Regions from separate parts of the Homo sapiens genome. Here region 2 is linked to region 1. Evidence: promoter capture Hi-C in human tissues and cell types (Jung and others, 2019). All regions are on one chromosome and are shown on one strand. The core of a region is centred on a gene start or on the middle of the fragment in contact, and the rest is flanking DNA. Distances in the headings are between cores, read along the strand shown.

Evidence for each region. The method cuts DNA at HindIII sites, captures the fragments that hold promoters and counts their contacts. A contact is called where the count stands out against the background at its distance.
Region 2: the fragment with the promoter of LAT2 here is called in contact with the fragment with the promoter of VPS37D in region 1 in 1 of the 25 tissues and cell types used here (dorsolateral prefrontal cortex).

What each region holds. Positions count from the first base shown.
Region 1 is chr7:73,664,693-73,671,170 of GRCh38, forward strand. VPS37D (VPS37D subunit of ESCRT-I) reads left to right here and starts at 3,139. Exons shown (of 4, transcript NM_001077621.2): 1 at 3,139-3,404; 2 at 4,727-4,898; 3 at 5,328-5,410; 4 at 6,322-6,478. The coding sequence starts at 3,267. RefSeq lists silencers at 2,750-2,799, 2,810-2,909, 3,020-3,319 and an enhancer at 3,301-4,296. The HindIII fragment of the contact is 19,506 bases long and covers 1-6,478 here.
Region 2 is chr7:74,206,537-74,212,390 of GRCh38, forward strand. It overlaps LAT2 (linker for activation of T cells family member 2), which reads left to right and starts at 3,470. Exons shown (of 14, transcript NM_032464.3): 1 at 3,470-3,552. RefSeq lists enhancers at 2,954-3,063, 4,284-4,403 and silencers at 3,344-3,393, 4,504-4,593. The HindIII fragment of the contact is 33,709 bases long and covers 1-5,854 here.

The sequences.
Region 1 (6,478 bases), core at 1,889-4,388:
AGAGAAGGTGACATTTGAGCTGGGCTTCAAAGGTGCAATAGGAGTTCTGAAATTGAGGGAGAAAATAATGGAACCAAAGAGAAGTCCACAGGCAAGGTAAGGGCTAAAATAAATGGTGAAAGGGGCCAGGCATGGTGACTCACGCCTGTAATCCCAACACTTTGGGACGCCGAGGCGGGTGGATCACTTGAGGTCAGGAGTTCAAGACCAACCTGGCCATCATGGTGAAAACCCCATCTCTACTAAAAACACACAAAAGAAGGCTGCACGCGGTGGCTCATGCCTGTAATCCCAGCACTTTGGGAGGCCGAGGTGGGCGGATCACGAGGTTAGGAGATTGAGACTATCCTGGCTAACACGGTGAAACCCTGTCTCTATTAAAAATACAAAAAATTAGCCGGGCTTGGGGGCGGGCGCCTGTAGTCCCAGCTACTCAGGAGGCTGAGGCAGGAGAACGGTGTGAACCCGGGAGGCGGAGCTTGTAGTGAGCTGAGATCGCGTCACTGCACTCTGACCTGGGTAACAGAGTGAGACTCTGTCTCAAAAAAAAAAAAAAAAAAAAAAAAAAAAAAAAAAATTACTGTGATCCCAGCTACTCCGGAGGCTTAGGCAGGAGAACTGTTTGAACCTGGGTGGCAAAGATTGCAGTGACCTGAGATCACACCACTGACTCCAGCCTGGGCGACAGAGGGAGACTCTGTCTAAAAAGAAAGTGAAGGGACTGTGTGAGTCCAGAGGAAAAGGGAATAACCCCCTAGCCTGGGAAGGTGGAGAGGGCTTCCTGGAGGTGGTGATATTCCAGATGAGTCTTGAAGGGGAAAGCCAATTTTAGTTGTTGTAAAAATGTAGAACTGTTTTTAAAAAAAAGTAGAAGTGTTACTTTTATGGTCTGTCAACAAGGCTGTCCTGCCGCTTCTCCCAGACATTGGCACCATGCCTGCCCACCATGCTATGGCTGGATAGGGAGAGTCCTTGCTCAGCTCTTCCCGCCCCTATGCCTTGGCTTATGGATTTCTGTTTGCTTTCATCATTTTCTCCTTCAACTTGAGAACTCCTATTCAACCTCTGAAACCCAGCTCAAATGCCACCTCCTCTGGTAAGCCTTCCTAATTGCTCTTTGTACTTTTGTAGCAGTGTATTAAGGTGGAACAAGCTCAGTTGTCGTTGTTGTTTTTTGAGACGGGGTCTTGCTCCATTTCCCAGGCTGGAGTACAGTGGCAAAATCATAGGTCACTGCAGCCTCAACCTCCTGGGCTCAAGTGATCCTCCCACCTCAGCCTCCTGAGCAGCTGGGGCTACAGGCACGAACCACCACGGCCGGCTACTTTATTTTTTATGTTTGGCAGAGATGGGGGTCTCATTGTGTTGCCCAGGCTGGGTCACTCATTGTCTGACTTAATTTCTGAGTGTCTATTTCCTGAGATGGGGACAATGGCTTAACCTATTTGTAAAGACAAGGTACAGGACATATCGGGGATCACATGGGAATCACAAAGCCATCATGAGGTGACACCTGCCATTTGTCTTATACTAGAATTAGTTGAGTGGGAATGGGACTCTGCCTTAATCCATGAACTCCCTGAGGGCAGGGACAGTGTCCCCACAGGGCCTAACCCAGTGTTCAGCGCAGAGCGGCATCGTATGCTCTGTGGACACTGTACAAATGAGAAGAAACGGGACTGTATCATTTACCTGTAATGTGACTTTGGGGAGGCGACATCATCTCTTTTTTTTCTTTTTTTTCTTTGTTTGAGACGGAGCACGGAGTCTCTGTCGCCCAGGCTGGAGTGGAGTGGTGCTATCTCGGCTCACTACAACCTCCGCCTCCCAGGTTCAAGCGATTCTCCTGCCTCAGCCACCTGAGTAGCTGGAATTACAGGCGCCCACCACCACGCCCGGCTAATTTTTGTTGGTCAGGTTGGTCTCAAACTTCTGACCTCAAATGATTCACCCACCTTGGACTCCCAAAGTGCTGGGATTACAGGCATGGGCTACCGTGCCCGGCCTCTGTGATGCTTCTGCATGTCTAAAATAACAAGTGGGTATTGACCTACTATGTGTATTCATTATAACATTGCTAGCCATATCACTATCCCTCAGCATTTTAATTTTACTTTTATAGAGATGGGGTCTTGCTGTGTTGCCCAGGCTGGTCTCAAAACTGAGCTCAAGCAATCTCCCACCTCTGCCTCCTGAGTAGCTAGGACTACAGACGCATGCCACCATGTCCGGATACTTTTTAAAAGCATTTAAATACTTTTAAAAATTGTTCTTTTCACTCTTTTTTTTTTTTTTTTTGAGACGGAGTCTCGCTCTGTCACCCAGCCTGGAGTGCAGTGGCGCGATCTCCGCTCACTGCAAGCTCCGCCTCCCGGGTTCACGCCATTCTCCTGCCTCAGCCTCGCGAGTAGCTGGGACTACAGGCGCCCGCCACCACGCCCGGCTAATTTTTTTTGTATTTTTAGTAGAGACGGGGTTTCACCATGTTAGCCAGGATGGTCTCGATCTCCTGACCTCGTGATCCGCCCGCCTCGGCCTCCCAAAGTGCTGGGATTACAGGCGTGAGCCACCGCGCCCGGCCTCTTTTCACCCTTTTGACAATTTTTAAATTTTTTTAAATAGAGACGGGGGTCTTGTTATGTTGCCCAGGCTGGTCTCAAACTCCTGGCCTCAAGCGATCCTCCCTTCTCGGTCTCCCAAATCGCTGGAATTACAGGAGAGAGCCACCGCGCCCGGCCAGCAAGTCAGCGCTCACCATCTCCAACCCCATTTTACAGAAGAGAAAACTGAGGCTTGGGGAGGGCTGCAAGGCAGGAGCCCTCGGCGCCCGGCCAAAGTCAGAAATTTGTTGTTGCCATCCGAGGGGAAAACGTGCACGGGCTCTGCAAATTGTAACCGCCCGGGGTGGGAGAGTCCGTGCCTGGGGGCGTGGTGAGCCAGGGCCGGTGCTGGGGCGCAGAGCAGGGCGGCTCAGATTCCGGGAGGGGCGGGGAGATCGGGTTGCTGGGCGATCCTGGGGTGCTGGAGGCGGCGCGGCGCGGCCGGGGCGGGGAGGGGTGCGGCCCGCCTCCTCCCTGCCCCACCCCCAGCCCCGGCGCCGCGGCTCCTTTAAGAGCGGGAGGGGCGCCCCCTGGCGGCGGAGCGGTGCGTGCGGCCGGAGCCGGAGCGGATCCTGGAGCCGGAGCGGAGCGGAGCGGAGCGGAGCCGGGGCGGAGCGGGCCGAGCGGGCCGAGCCAGCAGCCGAGCTGGGGGCGCGGGCGGGCGGCATGTACCGGGCCCGGGCGGCGCGGGCGGGGCCGGAGCCCGGCAGCCCGGGGCGCTTTGGGATCCTCAGCACCGGGCAGCTCCGGGACCTGCTTCAGGATGAGCCCAAGCTGGACCGGATCGTGCGGCTCAGCAGGAAGGTAGCGCGGGGGGCTCGAGCGGGGGGCGCGGGGGACGGGCAGCGGCCTGCGGGACCTGCCGCTCGAGGGAAGGGCCGCGCGGGCCGGGCCGCGGGGCCGCCCGTGGGCGCGGAGCCTGGCACGTACGAGTGGGCCCCGCGGAGCCACCCCCGGGGGAGGGGGCGCTTGGAGCTGGCCTGGGGCGGGTGGGGCGCCGGGGACCCGAGGGGGGCGCCTGTGCACCCCCAGGATGGCCGCGAGGCGTGTCCTACAGCGGATGCTCCGGGGAGGTGTGTTCCGGGGGGCTGTGTTGTGGGGGGCCCTGGCTCGCACACCCACGTTCTGTAAGGGCCAGAAAGAGGAGGCGCCTTCCACTGGGAGAACTAGGGGCCTGTCTGACACCTGGAGGGGCCGTTGGGGGTTCACGCATTCTGGGGGCGCAAGAGGGGGCTTTGTGCCTGGCGTTGGGGAGGGGTGCTGGAAGCTGCCGTGTGTATTGCATAGGCCACCGTAAGAGAAAGTTGTATATTTCACGGGAGATAGGCCCGGGCTGGTTGTCTGTGGGGGGCAGAAAGGGCAAGTGTGTGTTGAAAGCAGGCAGGCGAGGAGGGGCTTGTGCATCCCACAAGGGACAGATGGAGGGGAGTGCGTTCTCCAGGGGCAGGGAGGGGAGGTTGGGCCCTGCTAGAGACAAGGAAAAAGCCTTCTCCAGGGCCGGGGCTGCTGTAAGCCCGGAGCAGGGAGGAAAAGGGGGTGTGTATTCCTTGGGGTGTGAGGATTCCACTGGAGGCAGAGGAAGGGGTGGGAAGGGAAGAGAGGGTGACCCGAGGGGGTGCTGTGAGGGGACGGGGTGCAGACACCCCTCTGGAGAGGATGAGCAGGGGGTGGGAGTGTTTTCGGTGCAAACACCTGAGGAGGAAACAGACAAAGGCCTGGAGTGAGAGGGAAGCTGTCCATGCATGGAAAATGGGGCAGAGGAGGGAGGGGCACTCCTCCGGGACCTGAGCAGACATATTAATTGAAAAATTAAAAATTAACTAACATTTGTAGAGGCCTTTATAGTTTTCCTCACTTAAGTCTCTCAACAACCCCATAAGGTGGATGTTTTTTAACTCGATTTGTAAAAGAGGAAACTGAGGCCAGAGAGGGAGCTCAGGGCAGAGCCAGTTCTGGTCCCGGCCTGTCATCGTCCCTTCACCTGTTGGGTTCACCACCCTGAAGGGGTGCCTGACAGGTGCCTTTGGCCTGGCCCTCAGGCACGGTCGCCCAGTAGGGTGGACGGGGCAGTAGGGTGGACAGGGCAGATCCCCTGAGCGGGCCTCTTAGCTCCTCTCTGCCCGCAGTTCCAGGGCCTGCAGCTGGAGCGTGAGGCCTGCCTGGCCTCCAACTACGCGCTGGCCAAGGAGAACCTGGCCCTGCGGCCCCGCCTGGAGATGGGCCGGGCTGCCCTGGCCATCAAATACCAGGAGCTTCGTGAGGTGGCCGAGAACTGCGCGGACAAGCTGCAGCGACTGGGTGAGGGCACGTCTGGGAGAACCCCCTGGGGCTGGTGGGGGCAGTTGGCCATCCGGTGGGTTGGCCTTGGGAAGTGCCAGGCTCTGATGGATGGGAGTTGGGCGGACCTGCTCCTGGCTTGCTGGGCAGTAGAGTTGAGGAAGTGAGAGGAAGTGGGGAGGGTTGGGTGGGAGAAAGGGGACCCAATACGCAGGGTCCCCCTGAGATGCTGAGGGGGACAAAGCCTCCCCTGTCTCTTTTGTACTAGGACGAGGAGCAGAAACTTGGTAGGGGCCGGATCCACAAAGCGGTCACATGGGCACGGTACAGATGAGGAAACTGAGGCTCTAGACCAGGGGAAAGGGAAATATAGAATCACATGGGGTCAGCGGGAGAGTGCAAGCCCGGGGCCCTGGCCTGTCTGTCACTCTGTCCCTCTGTGGCCCTCAGAGGAAAGCATGCATCGCTGGAGTCCCCACTGCGCGCTGGGCTGGCTGCAGGCTGAGCTAGAAGAGGCGGAGCAGGAGGCAGAGGTGAGGGGAGGGGTGGCTGGGGCTGGGGGCCAGGAGGGAGACCCATTCTCTGCCACCCCCTGGCTCATTCTTACACCTCAGGCTGGGGAGCCCCTCCTCTGGGAAGTCCACCCTGAATGCCTGGCGCATGCCAGAGCCTAGCATTGCTGTCCACCAGCACTGGACAGCCAGCAGGGCTCACTTTCCTACCTGTGAATTTTTTTCGGGCTCCCCTGTGACTGGGCTAGGGCAGCGTGGATCTGGGGCTACAGAGGAGCTGGGGCAGACTTTGTGCTGGGTTGGGAGTGCAGCGATCAGTGAGCTGAAGGTGGTGGGCTCCCGAAGGACATGTTAAGTCTATACTTCACATATGTCCCTGCCTCTGCTCCTGCCTCATCTCTGATCCAGCAGGTCTGGTGATGGCATCCTTATTTTAGAAGTTAGGGCTGGGCACAGTGGCTCACGCCTGTAATCCCAGCACTTTGGGAGACCGAGGCGGGCGGATCGCCTGAGGTCAGGAGTTCGAGACCAGCCTGACCAACATGGTGAAACCCCGTCTCTACAAAATACAAAAAAAAATTAGCCGGGCGTGGTGGTGCATGTCTGTCATCTCAGCTACTTGGGAGGCTGAGGCAGGAGAATTGCTTGAACCCGGGAGGTGGAGGTTGCAGTGAGCCGAGATTGCGCCACTGCACTCCAGCCTGGACCACAGTGAGACTCTGTCTCAGGAAAAAAAAAAAAAAGTGGGAGGACATTTGTCCACAGTTCACTTAGCAAGTAATCGGAGGCAGGCCCAGGCTGGAACGCAGGTCCCCTGTCCCCCAGCTGAGGGGTGATCACCATGGGGAGGGCCTCAGGGTGGGAAGGAGTGAGGACCAGTCCCCAGTCTGTGGTCGTGCCTCTCCCAAGCCTTCCCTTCCCTCCCGGCCCAGGAGCAGATGGAGCAGCTGCTGCTCGGGGAGCAAAGCCTGGAGGCCTTCCTGCCTGCCTTCCAGCGTGGCCGCGCCCTGGCCCACCTGAGGCGGACGCAGGCAGAGAAGCTGCAGGAGCTGCTGCGGCGTCGGGAGCGTTCTGCCCAGCCGGCCCCCA
Region 2 (5,854 bases), core at 2,220-4,719, 540 kb after region 1:
GGAAGGAAACGTGGTCCTGAATCCAGTGCACTTGGCATTGCTGGATGGAACAAGGGAGGGTGGCGGTTGCTCGCACAGGCACAGGTCTGGGCGTCTGATGGCCCTAGCTTCAGTCCTAGTCCGGCCACAGAGGGAGGCAGGGTGAGCTCCTGACACGGACGCCTGCAGAATCTCTCAGAACCGGTCTCTGGAGCATGTGCTACCCTCCTTGTCCACGAGGTGGCAGCAGCGGGCCTAGCCGCTCGTCTCCGCGGCCACCTCTTTCTGGCCAGGCCGGGACACCGCGGCCAAGGCTAAAAGAGAAACCTAGCCCCAAGCTGAGAGTGGGACCCCAGAGCCAGGGTCCCAGGCCTAGAGGCGTCCAGGACTGGGGGCCAAGGTTCTGAAATGCCAGACATATAGGAGGTGGGGGACCGTCATGCTCTTCCCTGGTGTCTCCAGCAGGTGGGATAAACACCGGGTTCAATGGGACCAGGCGCGGTGGCCTCACGCCTGTAATCCCTGCACTTTGGGAGGCTGAGGATGGAGGATCGCTTAAGGCCAGGAGTTCAAGACCAGCCTGGGCAACATAGTGAGACCTTGTCTCTACAAAAAAAAAAAAATACAAAAATTAGCTGGGCGTGGTGGCATGCACCTGGGGTTCCAGCTAACTCTGGAGGCTGAGGTGGGAGGATCGTTTGAGCCTGGGAGGCAGAGGTTGCAGTGAGCTGAGATTGCACCACTGCACTCCAGCCTGAGTGACCGGGTGAGACCCCATCTCAAAAAAAATTTTAAAAAAGGGGAAAGAACAGCAGGTAACCTCTATCCAGGTGCACAGTCTGGGGCTGAAGGGAAACTGTTGCAGGCTTGTTCCCATTGTGTGAGGAGGAGCCAGTCAGGGGGTCCCAGTGAGGAAGCCAGGCTTTGGGGTCTGGGTTCAAATTCAGCTTCACCTCTGGACCGAGTGAGACCCTGTCTCAAAAAAAAAAAAAAAAAGCAGGCGAGGAATAGAGACAGAGGGTCAGACAGCAAGAGTCCCAGAGGATGAGACAGATGGACACAGAGACAAAGGATGCGGGATGTAGGTGGGCAGGGCAGGGACAGAGAGACCCCTGCAGAGGCCACGAGGGCAGGGCAGATGGAACAAGTGACCAAAGACAGGTGGAGGAGTGGACGGCACGAGTGTCAGAGGCTGCAGACAGCGAGGGCGCTAAAGGGTGGGAGAAGGAAGGAGAGCCCTGCTCCACCCCAGCCTTGGGGGTCTCATCACCCCACTGCACAGATGAGGCTCCTGGCATCGGGGTGCAGAGAACGGCTCATAGCACAGGCAGAGGGACCACAGCCCACTCCTGCCCAGCGGTGCTCCTGTGCCCAGCCCTGGGGTGGACACCGTGGCTGCCATCCACACAGACATGAGGACCGAGTGAGATAGTTCCCTGTGGAGGCCAGGATGCTCTGGCACCTGAGGTCAATAAAGCCACATCCCACAAGTGGGTGGACTGCCTTGTGCTATTGACCATTAAACAGCTGCCCAAGGCCATTGAGCTATTAATTAAATAATAATTATTATTATTTTAAATTTTTTTGTTGTGTTTTTTGGGTTTTTTTGTTTTTGTTTTGTTTTTTTGAGATGGAGTCTCGCTCTGTTGTCCAGGCTGTAGTGCAGTGGCACGATCTTGGCTCACTGCAAACTCCGCCTTCTGGGCTCAAGTGATTCTCCTGCCTCAGCCTCCCAAGTAGCTGGGATTACAGGCACCCACCATCACACCCGGCAAATTTTTGTATTTTTAGTAGAGATGGGGTTTCACCATTTTGGCCAGGCTGGTCTCAAACTCCCGACCTAAATAAGGTGATCCACCTGCCTTGGCCTCCCAAAGTGCTGGGATTACAGATGTGAGCCACCACGCCCGGCCTATTTATTGTTTTTACAGACAGACAGGGTCTTGCTGTCCCCCAGGCTGGAGTGCAGTGGCAGAGTCACGGCTCACTGCAGCCTCCAACTCTTGGGCTCAAGAAATCCTCCCGTTTTGGCCTCCCAAAACACTGGGACTACAGGTGTGTGCCACCACACCCAGCTAATTAAAAAAATTTTTTTAGAGATGGGGTCTCGTTCTGTTGTCCAGGCTGGTCTCAAATTCCTGTTCTCAAGCGATCCTCCTGCCTCAGCCTCCAAAAATGTTAGGATTGCAGGTGCAAGCCACTGCACCTGGCCTCTATCTCCCTGTTTCTTGCTCTCTCCCCATCTGTGTGTGTCTCTGACAGTCTGTGGCTCTCTGTATCTTTCTGTGTGTCTCTCTGTGTGTGTCTTGGTCCATCTCATGCCCAGCTAATTTTTAAATTTTTTGTAGAGATGGGGTTTCACCATGTTGGCCAGGCTGGTCTTGAACTCCAGACCTCAGGTGATTCTCCTGCTTCAGCCTCCCAAAGTGTTGGGATTACAGGCATGAGCCACCGTGCCTGGCCCATGGGTATGAATTTCTGCCTGTGTGTGTCTTCTTCTTTTTTTTTTTTTTTTTGAGATGAAGTCTTGCTCTGTCACCCAGGCTGGAGTGCAGTGGCGCTATCTTGGCTCACTGCAACCTCCACCTCCTGGGTTCAAGCAATTCTCCTGCCTCAGCCTCCCGAGTAGCTGGGATTACAGGCACCCGCCACCACACCCAGATAATTTTTGTATTTTTGGTAGATATGGGGTTTCACCATGTTGGTCAGGCTGGTTTTGAACCCCTGACTTCATGACCTGCCTGCCTTGGCCTCCCAAAGTGCTGGGATTACAGGCATGAGCCACCGCGCCCGGCCCATGGGTGTGAATTTCTGCCTGTGTGTGTCTTTTTAGCGTATGTGTGTCTCCATATCTGCCATCTGCAGGAGCACCTCAGTTTCATTATCTTGCTCCCTGTCTATTGGAGTGTATCTCTCTTCCTCTCTGTGTGACTTTTTGTGTTTATGTGTGTGTTTAGTGTGTGTCCATATTTTCCTGTTCTCTTGTGTCTCTCTGCTGTGTCTCTCTCTTTTTCTTTCTGTTTTTTGAGACGGAGTCTCCCTCTGTCACCCAGGCTGGAGTGCAGTGGTGCGATCTCGGCTCACTGCAACCTCTGCTTCTGAGGTTCAAACGATTCTCCTGCCTCAGCCTCCCGAGTAGCTGGAATTACAGACACATGCCACCATGCCCAGCTAATTTTGTATTTTTAATAGAGACGGGGTTTCACCATGTTGGCCAGGCTGGTCTTAAACTCTTGACCTTACGTGATCCACCCGCCTCGGCCTCCCAAAGTTTTTGGATTACAGGTGTGAGCCACCTCGCCCGGTCCTATCTCTCTTTCTTCTCTTTCTCCCTCTCACTTTGTTTCTCTTCTCTCTCTCTCTCCCGCCTCCTTCCCCCGTCTCCCCTCCCTTCCCCCCACCGCCCTCTTCATAGCTGAGCCTGTCCGGCAGTGCGGCGGATGTACGGATGATTCAGTGGCTGGCAGGAAGCCCGCCCTGCCCGCCCGCCAGTGTCAGTGGTGTTGGCATCAGCTTGGGCAGGTGTGCGGGCTCAGGATGGGGCGGCCGTGGTGAGGAACCCTGGACTCTCAGGTAAGCCTTTCCCAGGGGTGCCTCAGTCCTCAGGCTGTCCCCCATCCCCCAGGAGCTCCTGGCCCCACTGGGTGGGGTGGGAAGAGGCCTGGATGCCTGGCGCCCCCTCCCGCAGCCCCACTCTCACCCTGGCACCAGGCTCTGTGGCACTTCAGGGGTCAGTTTGTTTCTGGGCTTCTGGCCACTCTCTTGCCCTCGCCTTCCCCTGTCCAGCCTGTGTAGCCTTGGGACATCCCAGGGTGGTCCCATCATTGCCAGAGACTGGTGAAGTAAGTGGCCGAGAGCCAAAACAGTGGCTGCCCTGGCCTGGGAGCCTCGGTTTCCTCATCCGTGAAATGGGACTGTAACCCCCTACACAGGTCAGGGGAAAACGGTGGGATTACAGGCCAGGGCCCAGGTCTTGCCCCAGGTCAGGTGAAGAACCCCCACTGCCTCCCTGCCCAGCCCCCTACCTGGCCCTCAACTCTGTCCCTGGGACCAGGGCTGCTCAGGCCCCTCCTGCACCCGCCCGCCTCCCTCTCTCCCTCCCAGCTAGGCTCATTTGAAGCCCAGAGTTATTTGGAAAAAGCAACAGGACCAGCCGGGCACGGTGGCTCAACCTGTAATCCCAGCATTTGGGGAGGCCAAGGCGGGAGGATCATTTGAAGTCAGGAGCTGGAGACCAGCCTGAGCAACATAGTGAGACTCCCATCTCTTTAAAAAATAAAAATAAAAAAATATAATTAAAAACTAAATGAAAAAACCAACAGACCCCAGAGCAGAGTCCAGTGGATAAAGCCATCCAGGGCTTCAAGCCAGGCTGCCCCCTCCCCAACCCCAGTGTCCCCAACCACAGCTCAGCTCGGAGAAGGCTGGGAGAACCGGCAGGGTGGTCTCGAGCGTCCTTCCAGGCGGGATTCAGACACTGTAGCTCCTCCAGCCCAGCCCCGAGAACTTCCCCGAAGCCAGCTCTTGGCAATCGTTGTTCATATGAAAACTGCCCACTTCCCTTTAGTGCTATTTTGGCCTCTGCAGAACCGTGGTCTGTGGCAGCCCCCACTCCCCACCCCGCCCAGCCCTGCCGGCCCCTGGGGGCCTCAGAGGGTCCACCCTCCGCTCCCTCCACCTCAGCCCACCTGCTTTCAGAACCTGGATGGGAGAGTGAAAGTGAGAGCGAGACAGAGACACAAAGGGAGACAGAGACAGAGAGAGAGCACAGAATTTTTTTAAACGGAGTCTCACTCTGTTGTCCAGGCTGGAGTGCAGTGGCGTGATCTCGGCTCACTGCAACCTCCACCTCCCAGGTTCAAGCAGTTCTCCTGCCTTACCCTTCCAAGTAGCTGGGGACTACAGGCACGTGCTACCACACCTGGCTAATTTTTTATTTTTTATTTATTTTTTATTTTTTGGAGACAGTCTTGCTCTGTCTCCCAGGCTGGGAGTGCAGTGGTGCAATCTTGGCTCACTGCAAGCTCCACCTCCCGGGTACATGCCATTCTCCTGCCTCAGCCTCCCGAGTAGCTGAGACTAGAGGCGCCTGCCACCACGACCGGCTAATTTTTTGTATTTTTAGTAGAGACGGGGTTTCGCCATGTTAGCCAGGATGGTCTCAATCTCCTGACTTTGTGATCTGCCTGCCTCGGCCTCCCAAAGTGCTGGGATTACAGGTGTGAGCCACCGTGCCTGGCCTAATTTTTTATTTTTAGTAGAGACAGGGTTTCACCATGTTGGCCAGGCTGGTCTTGAACTCCTGACCTCAGATGATTTGCCCGCCTCAGCCTCCCAAAGTGTTGGGATTACAGGTGTGAACTACCGCACCCGGCCAACAGCGCAGGATGTATTCAGTCTGGGGGCAGACACATGACTGTTTGTTAAATTTCATTTTTTGTTTTTAGAGATGGGGTCTTGCTCTGTCACCCAGGCTGGAGTTCAGTGGTGTGATCTTGGCTCACTGCAGCTTCCAACTCCTGGGCTCAAGCAATTCTCTTGCCTCAGTGTCCCAAGTAGCTGGAACCACAGGCATGTGCCACTGCGCCTGCCTAATTTTTTCATTTTTTTGTAGAGACAGGGCCTTGTTACATCGTCCATGCTGGTCTCGAACTCCTGGCCTCAAGCGATCCTCCTGTCTCGGCCTCCCAGTGTTGAGATTACAGGCGTCAGCCACCACGCCCAGCCTGATCCCATTTTATTTATTCATTTATTTAATTTATTATTATTATTATTATTATTTTGAGATGGAGTCTCACTCTGTCTCCCATGCTGGAGTGCACTGGCGTGATCTCAGCTCACTGCAACTCACTGCCTCCTGAGTTCAAGTGATTCT